Regions from separate parts of the Homo sapiens genome. Here region 2 is linked to region 1. Evidence: promoter capture Hi-C in 16 types of primary human blood cells and fetal thymus (Javierre and others, 2016). All regions are on one chromosome and are shown on one strand. The core of a region is centred on a gene start or on the middle of the fragment in contact, and the rest is flanking DNA. Distances in the headings are between cores, read along the strand shown.

What was found. The method cuts DNA at HindIII sites, captures the fragments that hold promoters and counts their contacts. A CHiCAGO score of 5 or more calls a contact.
Region 2: a contact is called between a fragment that was not itself captured here and the fragment with the promoter of CSE1L in region 1, in 1 of 17 cell types (activated CD4 T cells). The highest score is 5.4, in activated CD4 T cells.

The regions. Positions count from the first base shown.
Region 1 is chr20:49,043,396-49,048,803 of GRCh38, forward strand. It overlaps CSE1L (chromosome segregation 1 like), which reads left to right and starts at 2,917. Exons shown (of 25, transcript NM_001316.4): 1 at 2,917-3,028. CSE1L-DT (CSE1L divergent transcript) reads right to left here and starts at 2,661. Exons shown (of 2, transcript NR_110625.1): 1 at 2,465-2,661. RefSeq lists enhancers at 2,540-2,689, 3,240-3,309, 3,275-3,915. The HindIII fragment of the contact is 3,278 bases long and covers 2,308-5,408 here.
Region 2 is chr20:49,244,670-49,249,841 of GRCh38, forward strand. It overlaps ZNFX1 (zinc finger NFX1-type containing 1), which reads right to left. Exons shown (of 14, transcript NM_021035.3): 14 at 1,231-5,042. The coding sequence ends at 2,598. Among named protein-coding and RNA genes, the nearest start is that of DDX27, 28 kb to the left of the region's middle. The HindIII fragment of the contact is 5,422 bases long and covers 1-4,523 here.

The DNA of each region.
Region 1 (5,408 bases), core at 1,667-4,166:
TAAAGTAGATTAGTGGGCCGGGTGTGGTGGCTCACGCTTGTAATCCCAGCACTTTGGGAGGCCGAGGCGGGCGGATCATGAGGTCAGGAGATCAAGACCATCCTGGCTAACACGGTGAAACCCTGTCTCTACTAAGAATACAAAAAATTAGCTGGGCATGGTGGCGGGCGCCTGTAGTCCCAGCTGCTCGGGAGGCTGAGGCAGGAAAATGGCGTGAACCCAGGAGGTGGAGTTTGCAGTGAGCCGAGATCGCACCACTGCACTCCAGCTTGGGCAACAGTGTGAGACTCCGTCTCAAAAAAAAAAAAAAATGCAGATTAGAACGATTAAAATGATTACTGGTGATTACTGGTACTATTGCTGCAATAGTAAAAATACATCTTTTTCACCAATGTCTTTGTTTTTTTTTAAAATGTTCCACCGTCTTCTGACCATCATGGTTTATTTTTATTTTTATTTTATTTATTTATTTATTTTTTTAAGACACAGTCTCGCTGTCACCCAGGCTGGAGTGCAGTGGCTCGATCTCGGCTCACTGCAGCCTCTGCCTCCCAGGTTCAAGCGATTCTCCTGCCTCAGCCTCCTGAGTAGCTGGGACTACAGGCGCATGCCACCACATCTGGCTAATTTTTGTATTTTTGTAGAGACAGGGTTTTACCATGTTGGCCAGGATGGTCTCGATCTCCTGACCTCATGATCCGCCTGCCTCAGCCTTCCAAAGTGCTGGGATTACAGGCATGAGCCACCGTGCCCGGCCTCACCAATGTCTTTCACTCATGTATCTTTCTCCATGGACTTCACTTATTTATATATGGCATTTCATTCAACATGCAACAAACATTTATTAAGCAGCTACTGTGTGCCTAGTGCTGGGGGTACAGCTGTGAATACCATCAATATGGGGCTAGATGTGGTGGCTCACACCTGTAATCCCGGGGCTTTTTTTTTTTTTGAGATGGAGTTTCGCTCTTGTTGCCCAGGCTGGAGTGCAATGGCAAGATCTCAGCTCACCGCAACCTCTGCCTCCCGGGTTCAAACGACTCTCCTGCCTCAGCCTCCCAAGTAGCTGGGATTGCAGACGTGCGCCACCACACCCGGCTAATTTTGTATTTTTAGTAGAGACGGGGTTTCTCCATGTTGGTCAGGTCTCAAACTCCCAATCTCAGGTGATCTGCCTGCCTCGGTCTCCCAAATCACTGGGATTACCGGCGTGAGCCACCATGCCCAGCCCTATCCCAGTGCTTTAGGAGGCGGAGGTGGGAGGATCACTTGAGGCCAGGAGTTTGCCTGGGCAACATAGTGAGAGCTCATCTCTACAAAAAAATTCAAAATTAGCCAGGTGTGGTGGCAGGTGCCTGTAGTCCTAGCTACTCAGGAGGCTGAGGTGGGAGGATTGCTTTAGCCTAGGAGGTCGAGGTTGCAATGAGCTATGATTGTGCCATTGCACTGCAGCCTGGGTGACAGAGCAAGACCCTGCCTCTTAAAAGAAAAAAAAAAAAAAAAAAAAAGCCCTGGCCAGGCGTGGTGGCTCATGCCTGTAATCCCAGCACTTTGGGAGGCCAAGGCTGGCGGATCACAAGGTCAGGAGTTCAAGATCAGCCTGGCCAATATGGTGAAACCCCGTGTCTACTAAAAATACAAAAATCAGCGGGGCATGGTGGCGGGCACCTGTAGTCCCAGTAACTTGGGGGGCTGAGTCAGGAAAATTGCTTGAACCTGGGAGGCAGAGGTTGCAGTGAGCTGTGACAGCACCACTGCACTCCAGCCCTCCAGCCTGGGCGACAGAGCAAGACTCTGTCTTTAAAAAAAAAAAAAAAAAAGAAAAGCCCTTGCTGTATAGAATCCCTTAGGTTATGGATGGGGAGGAGGGCAGGGGTTTAGGAGGGGAGAAGCGGAAGGAGGAACAAAATAAAGAAGAGACAATTAGTTGGAGAGTGATAAATACCATAATGATATCATGGAACTAGGCTTACCAGATCAAACACTGGGCACCCAGTTCAATGTGAATTTCAGATAAGCAATGCATGATTTTTAAGTATAAATATGTCCTACACAGTATTTATACTAGAAAATTATAAATTTTTTTCTAAAATTTACATTGACCTGGGCAGCCTGCATTTTATTTGCTAAACCTGGCAACCCTAATTTGTGTGCTGGGTGGTGGTGAGTGGGCAATTTCAGATAGGCCTCTTTTGTGGAGGTGACATTTGAGCTGGAACCTAAATGTAAAGAAGGAGCCAATCATTCAGGAATCTAGAACATCCCAGCACAGGGAACAGCAAGTATAAATGCTCTAAAGTGGAAATAAGCTTGGAGCTTAGAGGAACAGGAAGAAGGTGGGGTGGCGGAGCTGAGTGAGGGTGAGGAGAGGAGGGAAGCGGAAGGTGATGAGGGCAGGCAGGCTGGCAGGGGCCAGATCCCATATGGTTTGTGGGCTGTAATAAGAGTACCAAAACTTACATACCAGGCCAGGCGCGGTGGCTCACGCCTGGAATCCCAGCATTTTGGGAGGCCAAGGTGTGCGGATCACTTGAGGCCAGGAGTTCGAGACCTGTCTGGCCGTGTCTCCCTCTAAAATAGAAGCTCCAAGAGGGGCAGGAAGTTCTCTTCCGTCTTAGACCCTATGTGCACGACCTTGGATCGATCAACATTGAACACCTCCTACGTGCCAAGCCCTGACATCAAAATGGGTCAGAAGCCAGCAGCCGCTCGCTGAATCTGTGTTCCTCTTTGGAAAACGAGAACCGTGAAGCCTGCTGGCATGGTCAGAGCCAAAGAGCATTGTCACTTGTGAGATCAGCGCAGAAACAGAGCGGGGCCCCGATTGGCCCTTCGAACTTGGGTGGGGCCAGAGCATTCCTGGCCCCGCCCCCTGCAGCGGGCCGCTCGCTCATGCGCTCTGGCCTCAGGCTCGCTGTCGCGCCATTTTGCCGGGGTTTGAATGTGAGGCGGAGCGGCGGCAGGAGCGGGTAGTGCCAGCTACGGTCCGCGGCTGGGGTTCCCTCCTCCGTTTCTGTATCCCCACGAGGTGAGGCGCGGGGCGTGCACGGCCTACCAGAGTGGCTCTTGGGGCCCAGCTGAGGAAGGGATGAGGCGCTCCCGGTACTAACGAGCGCTAGGGAGTGAGAACCGCGCCTCTGGGCGAGAGCGGAATGTGGGCCCGGGGTTCGGGTGGTGCGCTCAGGCAAGGTCTTCGGCTTCCCTAGGGAGCGCTTGCCGCGCCTCGCGGCATCCTAGGTCTCTGGCCCAGGTGCGGCGACCCCAGGGCCTGTGAGGGCTGAGGGCAACTGAGGCGCGGCCTAACGCGAGCCTGCGGATTGCCCGCCCTTTCCTCTCCATCACGGCGCTGATTGGCTGCGCCGCCGCCTCTCCGCTCGGGAAGGCCGCTCCTTATTGGTCGCGCTCGCATGTCCATTCTCTGCGACGGTGGCTGCTAGCCGCGCGAGCTGAGTGTGCGGCGGCGAGGCCTGCCCGGGCGGGGACTGCGGGCGCGTGGAGCTGCGGCTGCCTCGCGTCGTCCCTTGCCCTAACTCTAGTGAAGCCCCCGAACTCACCCTTCTCTAACCTCTGTACTTGTATCCCTGACTGTAAAACGGGCATCGTGATCTCACTTTGCTGAATTGTTTGTGAGAATTCTAGTCGGTACACCCGGGACATAGAAATCCCCTGTAACGCGGGTTGGGGGAGGGTTCCCTCGTTTTGGGAGAAACGCTGTGCTGTGGTGGTTCGGAGCATAGACTTTGGAATTAGATCGCCTGGGTTCATTCCAGACGTAGCCTCTCGTTAGGGGTGTAACTTGAGGCTGGTCACCTCATCTCACTGAGCCTCCATTTCCTTAGCTGCAAAATGGGGTTAATAACAGAATCTACCTCGGAAAGTGGCTTTGAGGATGCGCTGAGTTATTTACCGTGGTTTACAAAGGTTCCCTGGGAGCTGACGGTTGTTTATTCATCTCTCCCACCCATCTTTCTCCTTAGCCAGTGTGGCTTTCTGTTTCTTCCATATTCCAGGGTTATTCCGATTTAAAATTATTTGCACATGCCTTTTGTTTGCTGGGGAAGTACCAACATTTTTGCAAGGCAGGCCGCCTCTCCCAAGTTTCCCTCACCTTAGGCCTCCCCTAACCAACCTCTTCTTTTGTTTTCTTTTTCTTTTTCTTTTCTCTTTTCTTTTTTTTTTTTTTTTTTTTTTTTTTTTGAGAGAGAGAGTCTCGCTCTGCCTCCCAGGCTGGAGTGCAGTGGCGCGATCTCGACTCACTGCAACCTCCGCCTCCCGGATTCAAGCGATTCTCCTGCCTCAGCCTCCCGAATAGCTGAGACTACAGGTCTGAGACTACACGCCACCACACCCGGCTAATTTTTGTATTTTTATTAGAGACGGGGTTTCACCATGTTGATCAGGCTGTCTAATCAACCTGTCTAGGACCTTTCTCCCATGGCTCTCCATCAACATCACCTGGTTTTAGTTACTTCATAGCATTTACTAACACTTACTTATTGCTTACTTGTTATCTTTCTCAACTGCTAGAATGTAAGCTGTTTGAGAGCAAGGACCTTGTCTGTCTTGCTTACTTCTCTCTCCCTGGTGGGTGCCATCCCACCTGTGCTTGCCACATGGTAGATGCACAAGTATTATTCTTCCTTGGAGGCACAGAAGGGGACCCTTTAGTCTTGGATTCCACCAATTGCTCTTTTTCTCACCTTGGGCCCACATAGTCATATCTTTGGCCTTTCTCTGTGTGTGTCTCTCTCTTTTTTTTTTTTTTTTTTGACATGCTTTCAGAGGATCCTAATGGACCTCGTCTCTCCGCTCCTACAACCCTTTATCTTTCACTTCTTACCATCAGTGCAAGGGAAGTCTCTCTCCCCTTCTGATTACTTCTGCTGGTTGGGGTCTGGGACAGGATTGGATGGATGCAAGAGCAGTGCTCTAGTTTTGGAATTAATTTGTTTCTTTATTCATTTAATAACTTTATTGAGCATCCACTTAATCTCTGGGAATATAGTGAAAAAACAAAAATGGACAAGGTCCCTTCCCTTGAGGACCATGTATTCTCGTGGGCGAAAGAAAAAACATTAGATAATTTCAGATAGTGACAGAATTATGTGACAGGTGAAGAAGGCTTTTCTGAGGAGGTGACATTTGGGTAGAGACCAGCCATTAAAAGGTGAGGGGCAGAACATTCCAGGTAGAGGGAATAGAAGGCTCAAGGCTCAAGGACAGGAACCGGCTTGGAATATTGAAATATTTAAGGAATATCTTAGGTTCCTAGAGTGTTACATGAAGAAGGGAGAAATATCCAGGACCCGGATCATAGAAGGCTTTGTAGGCAATGTAAGGAGTTTGGATTTGATTCTAAGTGGTATATTCCTATGGTTAGAAAGCAGAGGGTAGGTTGAGGTGTTGGG
Region 2 (5,172 bases), core at 563-3,062, 200 kb after region 1:
CTTGCTGCAAAAACCAGAGTCTCTTGTCCTCCAGGCTGGAGTGCAATGACACGATCTTGGCTCATTGCAACCTCCACCTCCCGGGTTCAAGCGAATCTCCTGCCTCAGCCTCCCAAATACCGGTGATTACAGGTGCCCGCTACCATGCCTGGCTAATTTTTGTATTTTTAGGAGAGACAGGGTTTCACCATGTTGGCCAGGCTGGTCTTGAACTCCTGACCTCAGGTGATCCACCACCTCAGCCTCCCAAAGTGCTGGGATTACAGGCTTGAACCACTGTACCTGGCCAAAAACCAGTTTTGATCCTGTAAGAACGTCGGTTCTCATCCTTTTCTGACTCAGAATGAGATGAAAGCTGTGGGGCCCCACCTGGAAAACTGTATAGTTTGTTATAATTTCAGGGAGTACTTACCACCCTACCCCCAGCTTAAAAATTATAAGTTATCCAGTAGCACATACCCTAGATACTAAAGAGTGTGTTCAAAGCTATTCATTCAGGCTGCACCTAAGTCACCAACAGAGGGTCCAATTCAGAAAATGATGGCACAACTGTGTGATGGAGTACAGTTCAGACTACTGTCTTACTGGATTTTACAGAAAGTAGGTTATTAGGCTAAAAAAGCCAAGTGCAGAACTGTGTACTTTTTCTTTTCCTTTTCCTTTTTTTGAAGCAGGGTCTCACTCTTGCCCAGGCTGGAGTGCAGTGGCTTCACTGCTCACTGCAACCTCGACCTCCCCAGGCTCAGGTGATCCTCCTACCTCAGCCTTTGGAGTAGCTAGGACTACAAGTGCAAGCAACAACACCTGGCTTATTTTTGTATTTTTTTTTTTGTGGAGATGGTTTCGCCCTGTTGCCCAGGCTGGTCTTGAACTCCTGGGCTCAGGCCATCTGCCCAATGTGGCCTCCCAAAGTGCTGGGATTACAGATGTGAGCCACCATGCCTGGCCTAAGGGATGTGTATTGCATGTGCATAAGTTCTCTCTGGGAGGACTCAGGAAGTTAACAGGGTTTGCCTCTGGAGAAAGAAACTTCAGGTATACCCTTTTGTACAGGCTGAAAAAATGTTCTTTTTACCGTGGGTAAAAATGATTCATTCACCAGCTAAATAAAAATCCTGTATCACAAAAACAAAATCACAGCCTCACTGTAGACAGTGCCTTCCCTGTGCCCGTCTTCACTGTCTTTGGCTGAGTTGCTTCTGAAAATTGAGGATACACGTGGACCACTGATTTTCTCAATCATTGTTTTTAATTGGCTTTATAAGCTAAAGTGCATAGTAAAGACAAAAAAAGGAAATGCATACATAGGAAAGGGACACTTAGAAAGGACCTGAGATACCTAAATGTCTGTTCTAAGGAACACTGGAAGGAGGGAATGCAGATGCAGGCAGCAGGCCTGGGTCTGGCTTCTGGCCTGGGTTTGGAGCCTGCAGAAGCTGCTGGCATGCTAGCTCTACCCAGGGAACAGCTCCAAGAGGGAGTGTTGGGATGAAGGATCACACTTGGGATAGGTGCTGCTGGTACCAAATGTGATTTTAGCTCCATTCAGGGCCCAGGGGTAACCAGCAGTGCCACCAAACCTGTCAGCAGGTAAAGAAACTTCTACCATCCCAAAGTGCAGGTTACAGGAAAGGGGTCACTCCTTAATGACGACCTGGGCCTGCTGCATAAGGCCCATCTTATGCAGCATGTGGGCTGTCCCATCTTCCCCACTCTCAGTGACTATGTAACTGTGTCAGGGTGAGTTGGTGCAGTCTTTTGTCTTATCACGTGCCTCCATCTCCTGGAGGCAGGGTGCCCAAGGAGGGCAGGGAGGGGTTCTTGTGCTCCTTTAAGGGATAAGCAGTTCATAAACAACTATGGGCCTCTGTTTATTATGAGAGTTAGTCTGCAAATTAGGGCCTGGCAATTAGAATCGGTCTGCATCAATGAGCTCATACTCTGTTCCTGGGGAACAATGTAGAATAAACATCTGACCAAGTAAAGACCCAGAGATACCACTAGGTGGCCCTAGGTGGAAGCCCCAAACATGTTCCAGGGAGTCTGTCCACTAATTTGCAGGAGAGAAGGGGTGAGATTTGTTAACTTTGCTCTCAGTTCTGGAGATAAAGTGCTTACTCTAGCGCAGGGGTAAATCTAGAAACAAATGTGGGTGAGCCCTAAAAGTGGATCCTTAAGTAGGTGCTAAGACTAAAAAGAATGATTTTTTTTTTTTTGAGACAGAGTCTTGCTCCTGTCGCCCAGACTGGAGTGCAATGGCATGATCTCAGCTCACTGCAACCTCCGCCTCCTGGGTTTAAGCGATTCTTCTGCCTCAGCCTCCCAAGTAGCTGGGATTACAGGCGCCCGCCATAACGCCCAGCTAATTTTTGTATTTTTAGTAGAGACGGGGTTTCGCCATGTTGGTCAGGCTGGTCTCGAACTCCTGACCTCGTGATCCGCCTGCCTCGGCCTCCCAAAGTGCTGGGATTACAGGCGTAAGCCACTGCGCCCAGCCTAAAAAGGATGATAATAAAAAACAAACTTCAGTTCCTTCATTAGGGAGCTGGCCCCAGTCATTCAGTGGCGAGGGCAAAAGGCAGTGGTGTACCATCTTCCTACATCATCCCCTGGATCTCCTCAAAGTTCATCAGGTTGTTGGCCGTGTCAGACCAGGCAGCATGCTGGGCTCCATCCATTTCAGAAGCAAGCTGGTTGCTTCTTTCCAGAGTATGATTTGTGCCACCAATCACTTCCTTACAGTCAGGACACGTGCCCCTCTCCATGGCTCCCCCACAATCGCCAATCACATAGATATGGCCATTGCGGCACTTGAACCAGTGACCACGAGGATAACCTATGGCACTGACAATCTGCACTCGCTCTTCCTCTGAGATGCCCAGGCCAGAGCAGGGAAGGGTGGCTTTCAGAGCTTCCATCTTTTCCTGCACAAGTTGTTCATCCTCTTGGGTGAACTTACATGTTTTCTCAAGGATATTCTGGACACTATAGACCTCTACTGCTATGCTATCTTTCACCTTCTTCTCTGCTATCTTGTAGCGGGTCAGAAGGTTCACCAGGTATGTGAGCCTCTGGATTTCACTTCGGAGGTCACTTAGTTCCTGGCTAGTGAAGCTCAAGCGCTTCTTGGCCAGCCACTCATGGACCTGTTCTAGTCGAGTCCTCACTCTTTTCTCTTCTAAGACATGCATCTTTTTCAGGGAATCCCACAGGCTGGCCAGGTGGTCATAGAAGCTGATGTAATTCTCAACCAGACCCAGGTCCTTCACTGACAGATTTTTCTGGGCCAGCTTCTCCTTTAACATCAGGAAGTCTTCAGGAAGCAGCTGGTGGAGGAGGCTCTTCCTCTCCAGCAGGGCCTTAAGCCGTTCCTGGCTGGTTGCTATTTCCCCTGCTGAGCCCTGGATCTTTTCCTTGATGATTTCAATCTCTTCTAGCCGCTGTTTTATGCTAGTTCCATACCTCAGGTTTTTGCGGATGGGCACCTGGCAGATAGGGCAGACTTTCAATCTGATGGCGACTTCATCATCCTTCTGTTCATTCATGTAGCGGTCTAGGGCTTGCACCTCAAAGATGTGGCTGCAGTCTTCCAGCTGCACAAAGCGGGCATCAGGCTCATCCTCAAAGCCAAAGAATATTTGGGTGACCTCATCCATGTGGCAGATCCGGCATTTCTTGGGGCATGGCTCCCCACAGAGACCAATGCAGGGGTGGCCACAAACTAGCAGCTTAGTACAAGGCACATAGCATGGGGGTCGGTTGCAGGGCTCAGAGCAGAGTTTGGTGCACTGGTAGTGCTGGCAGCGCCAGACACAGGGTTCCACGCAGGGACTACACAGCTCCCCACATTTCTTCTTGCACTGGCTGTGGACACAGCGGTTCTGACAGGTCCGCTGGCAGGGTGGGCACTCACCAATGCATGGTTCCTGGCACTTGTGTGAGCAGATAAGCAGGCGCTTGCAGGGCTGCTGACAGCGTTCATGGAAACGCCCTTCGAAGCAGCTGTGGCAGGAGCCTGGGCAAGGATGCCCGCAGTCCAAGATAGTGCCACACTTTGTGGTACACTTGACTAGCAGACCACCATACAGGAGGCCTTCCACATGACCACATTTTACCGGTTGACTGTGCCCACACTTGAGTTTTATGGTGACCATTTCTGAACACAGCTGCACACAGTCCTCACCACATGGGTGGCTGCATCTGTGCCCACATCTCAGAGACTTGGAGCAAGGCTCCTGGCAGCAGAAATCTGACTCAGGCACGGAACAAGGGACCATTTGTTCATGGCCGCACCGAGGAATGGTTTTGGGCACCTTCACCTGACAAGGCTGACACTCCTGGAAGCAAACAAGGGGACACCGGTGCCCTTCCTGACAGATGACCTTCTGGCATGGCTTCATGCATTGGAACTCCTTGTGTGAAGAGTCATAAGGGTGGCAGGCACGGGTGCAGACATGCCCACAGCCCAGGCGGAACTCGCAGGGCAGGCTGCAGCCTCCTTCGGGTACTTTTTGGAAGTCAGAAGCTTTGGATACTAAGGTGTGGGTTTCAGGGTGGTTCTGGCAGCAGAGCCGGAGCATGGGGCCTATTTGATTGTTCTCTCGAAGTGTATGAATGATCTTGCTCCACAGGGGCACCTTGGCCAGCATCTGCATGTTTCCGATGCAGTACATTCCCTTCTTGGCTCGGGACAAGGCCACACAGATGCGGTTGGATATCTGCAGAAAACCCACCTTGCCTTCTTGGTTGCTCCGCACTAGCGAGAGGAGGATGATGTCATTCTCTTCCCCTTGGTATTTGTCCACAACATGGACCCTGACGCCAGCAAATGTCTTGGCAGGCATCAGTTTGCGCAGGCAGAAGAGCTGCCCGGTATAGGTAGTGAGGATGGTGATCTGGGAAGGCAGGTATTCCTGGCACAGGAAGTACTTGCACAGCTCTACCACAAAGTGAGCCTCATGCTGGTTCTGATGGCTTTTGCCCTCTTGGATTTCCTGTTCAGGAAAGTTGTGTTCTACAAAGAAAAGGTTGGAAGACACCCCCTGACAGGGAAAAGAAGTGACATGTTAAAAGGTTCACTCATGGCACTTGTTTTTTTCTTCCTCTCTTGACATGCACTGGCCACTTACTCTGCTCCAGAGAGAGACCTTGGAAAGCTTTTTGTCCACTCAA